2 separate regions of the Homo sapiens genome follow, and region 1 is linked to region 2. The links are contacts of gene promoters, found by promoter capture Hi-C in blood cells and fetal thymus (Javierre and others, 2016). All regions are on one chromosome and are shown on one strand. Each heading gives the region's core, a stretch centred on a gene start or on the middle of the fragment in contact. The rest is flanking DNA. Distances are from core to core; before and after follow the strand shown. Region 1 overlaps KLF8 (KLF transcription factor 8). Region 2 holds the start of FOXR2 (forkhead box R2).

What was found. The method cuts DNA at HindIII sites, captures the fragments that hold promoters and counts their contacts. A CHiCAGO score of 5 or more calls a contact.
Region 1: a fragment that was not itself captured here is called in contact with the fragment with the promoter of FOXR2 in region 2 in 4 of 17 cell types (total B cells, megakaryocytes, naive B cells and 1 more); the score reaches 8.1 in total B cells.

What each region holds. Positions count from the first base shown.
Region 1 is chrX:56,245,096-56,251,378 of GRCh38, forward strand. It overlaps KLF8 (KLF transcription factor 8), which reads left to right. Exons shown (of 6, transcript NM_007250.5): 2 at 5,136-5,209. Among named protein-coding and RNA genes, the nearest start is that of KLF8, 16 kb to the left of the region's middle. The HindIII fragment of the contact is 703 bases long and covers 3,679-4,381 here.
Region 2 is chrX:55,619,311-55,625,703 of GRCh38, forward strand. It overlaps FOXR2 (forkhead box R2), which reads left to right and starts at 4,090. Exons shown (of 1, transcript NM_198451.4): 1 at 4,090-6,393. The coding sequence starts at 4,402. The coding sequence ends at 5,337. The HindIII fragment of the contact is 3,852 bases long and covers 2,147-5,998 here.

The DNA.
Region 1 (6,283 bases), core at 2,780-5,279, 630 kb after region 2:
CTGTGTATTTCCTTACTGTAAAGCTATGTTGATGTATATAAGACATTATTTGAATTGTCCAAATGCTGTATCCTGTCAAAGCACAAGGTCTTTCTTAGGCCCGGGTCAGGGTTTCCAGTGCTCTGCTTTCTTTTTAGTTGTAGGTTCTAATGACTCTGCTTTGCACCCCTTGTCACTTTATCTCTAGGCATTTTTCCCTTTCAGGGTTGGCCAAAGGATGGGATGTTTTCTTCTTAGCCAGCACCTGCTCCAGTTCCTTGGAGGCACTGTTCACTTTTGTAAGACAAGCTGATCATTATAGGAAATGCCACTTTTGTATAATATAAACTTGGGGACATGACAAAAGTTACATAATTTTATCAAACTCCTGTAGTCACAGTACCTGGAATGTGGTTTGTGATGTCCTGCATATATGAGACATTGACCCACTGGCGATGGGACTCAATCTTCTTCCCTATTTCTTCCTCCTCTGTTTCCTTCTATAGGACCCATGCCCTTAGGAGAAGGACCAGAAAGTCCAGCTTGTAGACACAAAGGCTTGAAGAGCCAATCCAAGCAGAATAATGGTTATTACCTCAAGTTGGTAATTTGCATTTCTGGTGTCCTCCTGCCTGAGTGATTCACATCTCAATGGCCCAGGCCATATATACTATAACCCCCTTTTGTATATTTCCTTACCACTTCCCTGACAGCTTTTGTGCAGCTGTCTGGTCTCTCTTAGGCACTTAGAGCAGAAATTCCAACTCTAGAGAAGAGCAAGAGGCTCATAAATCCCTCTTCAAAAAAAAACAGAGCCTTCTTTAAGACCTTCTGTGGGCCTTAATTTTCTTCAGTTTTCAATTTTGCCTGGGTAAATATTTTTTAAAATTAAATTTAAAAAAGGAGGTTATATACCTTCCCAGTATCTTTCCTTATAGTCATTCCTACCAATATTTAGAAGGTTGACCAGGATTACCTAATGGCTATTCCATTTGGCTGTTTTCTGGGTGAGGGCACTAGCCAGAAATGGCTGAGACATTATTAATTGTCAGCTCTCCCTCTTATACTATTTTACTAAAATATTTGTGATATAGGAGGGCCAAGAAGTATTTTTCAGGCTCCTTGATTGTTGCTATTAAAGCTTTTGAAGATGGGCAGTTATAGTTCTGGATATGGCTCTATCTTTCCTCATTTCCCTGATCATTCATTCCTTTATTCACTGGACATTAGTACATAGTGTATAGGAGATGCTCTGCTAAAAGATAGGGATACAAAAAAAGGAACAAGACTAGGTAACTATTGAAGGGCTCACCTGGTGGTGAAGGAAACGGACAGTTCCTCTTTGTGCCAGGTACTGTTGTAAATACTTGAACATATATCAACTTGATACATCCTCATAGTAATTCTGTGACCTGGTACTATAATTATTCCCATTTTACAGATGAGAAAACAGACACAGGAGGCTGGAAAAACTTTGCCCAACTTCTTACTGTTAAGAAGTCACAGAATCAGAATGTGATTCTAGGCACTCACTCCAGAGCCCACATGTTTTACTACACTTTGAGAGCAATGTGGAGTATTGACCAGAAGGGGAAGGAAGTGACTATGAAATGATGAAGGGCTAGATTTAAGAGATATATCTGCAGGAGAATTATTATAGCTGATAACCAACTGGCTGAAGATAGGGAGAGAGGAGTCAAAGGTGGCTGACCCCTAGGTTTTTAGACTGATAGACTGGGTTTATGGTGGTGCTAGAAATTAAGATTAGAAATATAAGAGGTGGAGCAGGTTTGTGAACTCATGGGGTATAAAAGTCCTATTTGATACACAGGACAGATTCTTTGGGCCAGAGTTCAAGATTCTGATAATCAACAATAATAATGGTGGTGATAATAGCTAACTGAGAGTGTTCTATATGCCAGGATTTGTTTTAAGTGTATTTACATGTACAGTTATTCATCCCTTAATGAAGGGGATATGTTCTGCAAAATACATCCTTAGACAATTTTTACATTGTGTGAATATCATAGAATGTACTAACATAAACCTAGATGGTATAATCTACTACAACCTAGGCTATATGGTATAGCTTATTGCTCCTAGGCTACAAACTTCTATAGCATGTTACTGTACTGGACACTGTAGGCAGTTGTAGCATAATGGTGTATATTTGTGTATCTAAACATAGAAAAGGCACAGTTAAAATATGGCATAAAAGATTTTAAAATGGTGTACCTGAACACCACTTAACATGAAGGAAACTTGCAGAACTAGAAGTTGCTCTGAGTAAGTCACTTAGTGAGTAGCGAGTGAATGTTAAGGCCTAGGACATTACTGTACCTTACTTTAGACTTTTTAAACAGTGTACACTAGGCTACACTAAATTTATAAACAATTTTTTCTTATAAATTAACCTTAGCTTACTATAACTTTTTTAGCTTAAAACACAAATCCTGTACAGCTGTACAAAAATATTTTATTTCTTTGTATTCTTATTTTATAAGCTTTTTTCTATTGTTAATTATTTTTTTTTTGCTTTTTACAAGTTTTTGTTAAAAACTAAGACACAAAGACACATCAGCCTAGGCCTATGAGGGTCAGGATCATCAATATCACTGTCTTCTACCTTATATCTTGTCCCACTGGAAGATCTTCAGGGGTAATAACATGCATGGAGCTGCCGTCTGGTATGACAACAATACCTTCTTCTGGGATACCTCCTGAAAGACCTGCCTGAGAATGTTTTATAATTAACTTTTTTTTAGTAAGTAGAAGGAGTACACTCTAAAATGATGATAGAATGTATAGTGTAGTAAATACAGAAAACAATAACATAGTCATTTGTTATCATTGTTAAGTATTACATACTGTATATAATTATATTGACTGACAGCACAGTCGATTTGTTTACACCAGCATCACCACAAATACATGAGTAATGCTTTGCACTGTGACATTACAGCGGGTATGATATCACTAGGTGATAGGAATTTTTTAGCTCTGTTATAATTGTATAGAATCATTGTCGTATCTATGAGAACACTTGGACACAGGAAGGGGAACATCACACACTGGGGCCTGTCATGGGGTGGGGGGAGAGCGGAGGGATAGCATTAGGAGATATACTTAATGTAAATGACGAGTTAATGGGTGCAGCACACCAACATGGCACATGGATACATATGTAACAAACCTGCACGTTGTGCACGTGTACCCTAGAACTTAAAGTATGAAAAAAAAAAGAACAGTGTCGTATCTGTGGGTCATCGTTGACTGAAACGTCATTACATGGCATATGAATGTATTAACATGGAATGTTCACATTAACTCTGTTAAGGCAATACCGTGTTACCCCCTCTTTTGGCAGGTGAAGAAACTGAGGTTCATAGAAGCTAATATAGCCTCTCAGAATCACTCTGCTTCCTCAACTCTGCTGTCTCTTAATCCATAGGAATCGAAGAACAGATTGGAGTTGGCTGTCTTAAGTTGTACTTGCTAGAAATAATGAAGCCTGTTGAAGGTGTTGTGTGAATGCAGAGGGAGAATCGAATCTTCTCCACTCCTACGCATGGTTCTGGCAGCAACAAAGAAAGCTCTCCTGGCGTTTTGGTGCCCCCCTGTGGGCTGTATGAGAGTTACCTGACCTCACATTCTTTTTCCACCATCACACCTCCTTTTCCTGTCTTAGAAATCAGAAAAAGCTTAGCTACCCTCTCTACCACCTCTCACTTCATAGTTAATTACACCTCAGGCATCTTTCATGCATAAATTCTCTAATTTTCTTTCGTTCTTTTCCACCCTTTTCCAATTTCTGTACTTGAGAAAACACATTCCCTCACTCTCCTTTTCTGTCACTGTCATCAAAAACCTTCGAAAATGTGATTAAACACCTACCATGTACCAGGCAATGTTCTAGGGCCTTGGAATACATTAGTGAAAAAAACAAAGATGAAAGTATCTGCCTGCAAGGAGCTCAGATTCTATTGGAAGTCAGTTTTCTTAATTCTGGCTTCTACTATTCTTATTACTTACTACAGTTCCTCCATTAACCTGTTAAAAGAGAAACTTTAGACAAATTACACTTAACAGTTTAATCGAGCAAAGAATGATTCATGAATCAGGCAGCCCCCAGAAGAAATAATAGATTCAGAGCAACTCTGGGGCTGCCATGTAGTCAGATAATATTTATGGACAGAAAATGGAAGTGAGGTACAGAAACAGCTGGATTGGTTATATCTCAGTATTTGCCTTATTCAAACACTTTGAGTTGTTGACTGCCTGTAATTGGCTGAAACTCTGTGATTGGCGCAACAGTAGATTACACTGTCTACACATCCAGTTAGGTTATGGTTCATTATGGATGGGGAAACCTTTAGGCTGAACTTGAAATATGTAAGGAGGAAGCTTTAAGCTAACCTTAATTTAACAAACCCCACCCCCAAGTTCCATGGAAGCCTTAGGGTTCTGCAGAGGATAGTCTGAAATCTTTTAATCATAGATGGACAAGTTGTGGCTTAGGAAAAAAAAGGCCTTGCCAAAGATTATGGGATGTGAGTGCTGCACATCTAACTCCCAGAAAATCTGGTTGAGGAAGAAAGCTAGTAGGTGCTTCTAGTATGAATGACTGATGGTTTAAGGCAGCTGAATTAAGACACTAATTCCTTTTTTTAAGAGGAAAAACTAAAGAAGAAAGAGAAAACTGTTTTTATTACCCCACCTGGCTTGCAGATTTAAGAGACGTAGACAGATAAAATACGTCTCTAGAGAGATTTGGCCTTGATGTGTAAATAAGTTCACTCGGGTAAATATATATATAGGAGCTTGGAACTCCTTCAAGCAAGAACTAGACCAGGAAGGTAGAATACTGAAAACTGTAGCTATACTGATGTTCCTCTGAAGGCAGAGCATGTTGGAGAAATAGGAAGAAACAGATTACCTGCATGCAGTTTGGTGGAGGGGAGCAGCTAATATTATTGGGGAAAAGTTAGGTCCATCTTGATGAGTAAAATAAATCAGAAGGTTTCAATGACTTATCAGTATCTGGTAAGCACTGAAAGATAAAGGTCATAGAACACACATAACATTAATGGCATATTTATGCATATAGTGGGTTAGATTTTATTCTGAAAGTTGTCTTTTCCTTTTCTCTTTTCCAGATATGGATAAACTCATAAACAACTTGGAGGTCCAACTTAATTCAGAAGGTGGCTCAATGCAGGTATTCAAGCAGGTCAGTTATCAGGAAAATAGGGTGCTAATATTGGGCCATAATAGTATTGAATACCTGGTAGTGATTACAGAATTTAAACTCATTTTTCTTTCTATAACATGTTTGGGGATTGAGAAGAGGTGAAGGAAGACATATTTCTAGAAAGTATATGAATGCCTTGGTTTCATAGTCAGCTGGGGAGTAGATCTGGCCTAAAAGAAACATAGCCTCTGGAATCAAGGCTATAAAGACAAGAGTAGACCTTTAGTAGACAATAGCAACTATTTATATAGCACTATTTCATATTTCAGATAGGATGAAGATTAAATGCATTGTCTTATTTAATCTTCACCATAATCCTGTTGAACAGTGTATTAATTAGTATTCTCCAGAGAAACAGAACCAACAGGATATGTGTGTATGGTGTATGTGTGTGTGTATGCATATATGTACATGGAGAGAGAGAGAGAGAGAGATTTCAAGAAATTGGCTCATTAGATTGTGGAGGCATGGCAAGTCCAAAACCCCATCAGGGGTAGGCCGGCAGGCTGGAGATTCAGAAGGAGTTACAGTTTGAGTCCAAAAGCAGATTGTGAGAAGAATTCTTTCTTGCTCTATGGAGGACAGTCTTTGTTTTAAAAACTAAGGTCTTCAACTGATTGGTTGAGGACCACTCACATTATAGAGAGTAATGTGCCCTATTTAAAGTACAATGTTTTAAATGTTGGTCTCATCCAAAAAAATACCTTCACAGAAACATCTAGAATAATGTTTGACCAAATATCTGGGCACTGTAGCCCAGCCAAGTTGTCACATAAAATTAACCATCATTATTCTTAGTTTCCCCATTTGATGGAAAATAAAACTGGCCTTGAACACTCCAAGAATTAGGATTCGAAACAGGTTATCTGGATTTTATGTCCCAGGGCTCTGTGCTAGATGTTGAAGTCCCGTCTTTCTTGGGGTTGCAAATTCACTGCATGAGTGAAACTCAAATACAGTCAAAATTAACCTTGAAAATCCTTAAATCACCTATAGACTTGAGTATACAGTGTTGTATATACAATACTTGTCTGTTTCTTTATTTAATTCATC
Region 2 (6,393 bases), core at 2,840-5,339:
CAAGCCCCACAATAGGCCATCTGCAAGCTGAGGAGCAAGGAGAGCCAGACCGAGTCCCAAAACTGAAGAACTTGGAGTCTGATGTTCTAGGGCAGGAAGCATCCAGCATGGGAGAAAGATGTAGGCTGGAAGATTGGGTCAGTCTAGTCTTTTTATGTTTTTCTGCCTGCTTTATATTCTAGCCACACTGGCAGCTGATTAGATGGTGCCCTCCCAGATTAAGGGTGGGTCTGCCTTTCCCAGCCCACTGACTCAAATGTTAATCTCCTTTGTCAGCACCCTCACAGATACACCCAGGATCAATAATTTGCATCCTTCAATCCAATTAAGTTGACATTCAGTATTAACCATCACAGGCACCCTTGGGCTGCATGCAACCTATACAACTATACACAGCAGCCATTGGTATTGTACCTGTTTTTCTGGAACCACATATAGCTTACTCATCGTTTTTCCTGTATTCTTTCCTGATTGCCCATTGATGGAAACAAGTACATATCTATGCTTTACAAAAGACATATACTTAAAATGAAAAAAGTACCCATGAATATTTAGCAGTTTCGTATATAAAAGCAACAAATCTTAAATATCCTATGGCATTTTTTTTTTTTCATTACAAGTACCTTTTTTTCTTTTTTTTATAAGAGAAAAGGTCTTATTCCACTGACCAGGCTGGAGTGTAGTGGTGCCATCACAGCTCACTGCAGCGTTGAACTCTTGGGCTGAAGCAATCTTCGCACCTCAGGATTCTGAGTAGCTAGAACTACAGGCGCATGCCATCATGCACAGCTGATTTTTTAAAAAATTACAGAGGCAGAGTCTCACTCTGTTGCCCAGGCTGGTCTCAAACATTTGGCTCCAAGCAATCCTCCTGCCTTGGCCTCTCAAAGCACTGGAATTACAGGCATGAGCCACTGCACCCAGCCCACAACTACCTTTTTTACTTTTAGGAGTATCATCATGTACTTACAGCATTTAACAGACTAAAATAGTTTCAATTAATCATAGCATATGTGGTAAAATAAAAAGTTACAATTTGGTAATGAGAGCCCCTTTAAGGTGACTTTTCATCCTTTCAACACTGCTCCTGACATTCTTGAAAGAATTTTTATTGTAACAAGAGTCTTTATTAATATTGCTGACTTTTTTCTGCCCAAAAATGTGTATCAGCTACCCTCCTTATCAGTCCTTTGAGTGGGGACCAAAATCTGGGCACAGGAATGCTTTTGAAAATTGAAGGCAGGTAACAGCACTGCTTCTACTGCTGCTCCTGTTGTTGGGTGTATTAGTCCGTTCTCACACTGCTATAAAGAACTACCTGAGATTGGATAACTTATAAAGAAAAGAGGTTTAGTTGATTCACAGTTCCACAGGCTGTACAGGAGGCATGGCTGGGGAGGCCTCAGGAAACTTACAATTATGGCAGAAGGTGAAGGGCAAGCCAGCACATCTTCACATGACAGCAGGAGAGAGAGAGAGCAAAGGGGGAAGTGCTACACACTTTCAAAAAAACATCTTGTGAGAACTCAATATCATGAGAACAGCAAGGGAGAAATTCATCCCCATTATACAATCACCTCCCACCATGTCCTTCCTCCAACATTGGGGATTACAATTCAACATGAGATTTAGGTGGGGGACAGAGCCAAATCATACCATTGGGACTGCGTGTGTGTGTGTGTGTGTATGTGTATAAGAGAGCAAGCATAAGCATGCCCATGCTGAAGAGGTATTTCTAAGGTCATTATGAGTTCCCACCACTTTTTCCAACTTTTTATGTTGTTGTGCCATTTTTTGCTTATAACATATGGTTTCATCAACCGCTGACATTTTTGCCTATATCAACACTCGGGATAGGTTGGGACCTGGGAAACAGGCTACCCACAAATATGAGTTTCAGTACTTTTCCAGAGCATGTGCAAAATGTCCCTGTCTCCTTTCCTGGAGCACACTTAAGCAAGATTGGGTTCTAACATGTGTTTGAGATTAACGGAGGCCATCTTTTGATGGTTAACATCTTACTCTAAAACTCATATAGTTTTATGGGTTTTGCTTTGTATAGTACATATACTGTGTTGAATGTGTACCTGGTTGGCATGTGCTAGCCTGTTCTCCATATCTCTGCTTCTGGGTAACATGTCTTTTAAGCTTAAATAATATCTTCCATGGGATCCCTTTTGATTCCTATTATCTGGGTTAAGTTGTTCCTCTCTATGTTCTTCTATTGAAGTATCTAATACTCATCACACTGTATTTTAACCTTTTGTTTACTTCTCTGTCTTTCCGCATTACTCTGTGATATCCTCTTGGGTTGTGTCTTACTCATCTGCCAGATCTATTACATACTTCTTGGAACATGGTGGATGCTCAATACGTAAATATTGAATGTTTCTAAATGAGGCCCAAAGAAACAATACACAGTGATAACTTGGTTTTACTAGCCAATATCTAAGGATTGGAGCACTCTCCCAGGTGAAGATGGAGGAGAAATTCTGTAACACTAGAGCCCCCATTTAAGGAATAAAAGACTGCTGAGCACTAAAATGCTTCCAGGCTCTCCGTGGTTGGCATAATAAGCTAAATATTTCAAGTTAATCTCCTGCTTTTCCAAGATCAGTGCCCCACTGGAAGGAGATCCATTAATTCCCTATGGGGAGATGGAAGCAGCGTTTTTATTAGAGAAGGCTTTCTGTTGTCTTAAAAGATGAGTAGAGGTTAGCTAAGTCAAGGCAATGGGTAGTAAGCCATTTTAAGCGAATGTTTTTGAGCAAAGGGACATGAGAAAAAAACGGGTGTGTGGTGAAGATCCCAGCATTTCAGTACTTTTTGGACGTGAAGTATGAAGCAAGAAAGCTAGGGTGTTAAGTTACCCTGGAAAGGTAAGCAGGGGTGAGATTTTGGAGGGACTTTTATGTTGCATTAAGTTATAAGATTTTATGTTATAACACCAAAATAGAGAAGATTGGTATAGTTAGTAAAAGCATGTGTTCTGCAGTCAGGTTGCCTATGTTTGAAAGTCAGCTCTGGCCTTTACTAGCTCTGTGACTTAGGCTTTTTTGTGCCTTATGTTTTTTACTCTGTAAAGGAAGAATAATAAGAGTACCTACTTCATAGGATTATTTTGAAGATTTGAGTTAGAGTGCTTACAGCATTCTGTAATAATTAACAGTTGGTACAACTGTTGTGTTGTTTTTTGTATTTATGCTGTAGAAAGACAACTCAGGCCACTTGTATGAAAGATTAGAGTAGAAGAGAACCAGAGTATGGAAACAATATGGAGATTAAAGTGCCTCTCCAATAGCTCCCATTGACATTTGCTGGATATGTTTGCAACATAGTCCTATGTAGTGATTTTAATGATATCGCATACTTTACACATGGATTTTGTGCAAACTGAATTAAAGGAAACCTTGCCATTTTATTTTTCTTACAAATGTCCTGGGTGTGAACTTACTGGAAATAGAACCTCTGGGGCTTTCAGGACCTTGCATACTGTGGCTAAATTTTGGTCCTACTGTTCAGAGTATAGTTCAGAACTCATTTCCTAAGAAGGTGACCTGGAGAGAGGAAAGCCAGCTGTTTCCCAGAAAAGGATTGAAAACGGCAGCAAGGTTAGATTCTAGTATCAGTATGAGAATAATAGAGGCCATGTTCTGATAGTTACCATCTTACTATAAAACTCAGGTTGCACATATTACTGCCTGTTGTATATCGTATGTTGAGTATGATCAAGAGGCAATGCGTATAGTGAAAATAAAAGATCTGGGCTGTGGATCTAGCTCTCCTACTTACTCATGTCTGTATATCTCAGTTGCCATGTCTGTGACATGAGGATAATAATACCATGTTATCTTGCAGGGCTGTGATGAAAATCAGTTGAGATCATCTATGTGAAAGCACTTAACCAAAATCCAAAGGCACTCGATGAATGAAATGATTTTTAAAACCATTAAGGAAGACTCAGAAATATAATGTGATCTATACATATGTTTGTCCCTTCCTTAAATGAACTCATCAAGGGTTTAAATATGTGCCAGATGATCACCTATTATGCAAGTCACCATAGTTTGCACATAATTCAGTTTATAATTCCTCTTGAAGTGACTTTCTGCTTCCAATCAAAGCTCAAGAATTCCACCTAAAAATGTTTTTCTGCTCAAAAGCTCTTTTTTATTACTTCCATGTTTTGAGCCTTGTTCCAGAAAGCTGAGGTTTCTCCAGGTCTGACCACTAATCAGTGAGACATTGGTGCCTCTTTCTTCAGTGCTTCTAGCAGGCCTACTGATAAGCTCCCTAGATGAGATACACTGCATAAAAAAATGATGCCCAAAGGACAGCTTTAAGTGCCTGCTAGATATCTGTTCTTTCAGAAGTCTCTCTCCACCTATCTCTCCAGTAAAGATGGACTTAAAACTAAAAGACTGTGAATTTTGGTATAGTCTCCATGGCCAGGTCCCAGGGCTGCTGGACTGGGACATGAGGAATGAGTTATTTCTGCCTTGTACCACAGACCAGTGCTCTTTAGCTGAGCAAATCCTTGCCAAATACAGAGTCGGAGTAATGAAGCCCCCAGAAATGCCTCAGAAGAGGAGACCCAGTCCTGATGGAGATGGTCCTCCCTGTGAACCCAATCTGTGGATGTGGGTGGACCCCAATATCCTGTGCCCCCTTGGCAGCCAGGAGGCCCCAAAGCCCAGTGGAAAAGAGGATCTGACAAACATTTCTCCTTTCCCTCAGCCCCCACAAAAAGACGAAGGGTCTAACTGCTCAGAGGACAAAGTGGTAGAGTCTCTGCCATCTTCCTCCAGTGAGCAGTCTCCTTTACAGAAGCAGGGTATCCATTCCCCCAGTGACTTTGAGCTCACAGAAGAGGAGGCTGAGGAACCAGACGACAACTCCCTCCAGTCCCCTGAAATGAAATGTTACCAGAGCCAGAAACTATGGCAAATCAACAACCAAGAGAAGTCCTGGCAAAGGCCCCCTCTCAATTGTAGCCACCTTATTGCCCTAGCATTAAGAAACAACCCCCACTGTGGCCTCAGTGTGCAGGAGATCTACAATTTCACCCGACAGCATTTCCCCTTTTTCTGGACAGCTCCGGATGGCTGGAAGAGCACCATTCATTACAACCTCTGCTTCCTGGACAGCTTTGAGAAGGTGCCAGACAGCCTTAAGGATGAAGATAATGCAAGACCTCGCTCTTGCCTTTGGAAGCTCACTAAGGAGGGGCACCGCCGCTTTTGGGAGGAGACTCGTGTCTTAGCCTTTGCTCAAAGGGAGAGAATCCAAGAGTGCATGAGTCAGCCAGAGTTGTTGACCTCTCTCTTTGATCTTTGAAATGCCATTGCTCCCTTTTGGAACACTGCCTTCCTTACTGTGCCTACTTATCCCCTGACATTCATTAATCTCTAAACTTACCCAGCCTGGTTGGTGCCAAGTCTGTCTTTAGCTACTGTTACAATAATGGTGTTAAGTAAAGTTAGAGGTGGGTACAGGGGAGACAGAACTTAAATCCAGGTGGAGAGTCATGGAAAGTCGCACGAGGAGAGTGGCTGTTGTTCCAAATTTTGAGCAAAGGAAAAGAAATCCTAGAAACAATGGCATAGAAACTAAGGAAAGAAGGGTGTGTTTTGTGAAAGAAAGGAATTTTGTTTATAGAGAGTATTTTCACACATGAAAGTGAACAGTGGAATATAAAGCATAAAAGGCAGGATGGAGCCGAGCCATGGAGAACCTCGAGTGCCATGTGAAGAGAATTTGACTTGTGATGAAGAATCAAGTTTCCCCTTCTACCATTCATCAGCTACATCTCCTTTTTAAGTAACCCATTTTATCCTTCAGAACCTCACTTTTCTATTTCTGGCCCTGGACTTCTAAGCCTTGTTTCTTTGTCATCCAATTCCAATATTGACAAATAATTCTAAACAGCTACTTTTAGTTTGTATGTTTAACGTCCTGTGAAATATTCCTGTATTAACCCCAAGCCTTTTGATGATAAAGCTTTATTTTCTATTATTTTTAGTTCTCAAGATTTTATTGAGGATATGCTAATGTGTCAAGGTCCATCTTAGATGCTGAGGATAAAAAGCTGAGGGATACTAGTGGGAGACATATTTATAATGTAAATATGATGAAACAGATGTGAGAAATTGACATGGAAATGGGGAGACATTCTTCCTGGGAAAGACATGAAAGGGCATTGGAAAAAATACATTTTGAGCTAGTTTTGAAGAATAAATGGCAAACTGGAGTAGAGGCATTACAGAGACAACAATGTGAACAAAGTGGATGGAGTGTTTGGGGGAATGGCATGAAGTTCAGTGTGACTTAACTACATGAGGACCGTGAGTGACTAAGAGAAAACTATTAGGTGTTTGGACTTCATCTTGTGGG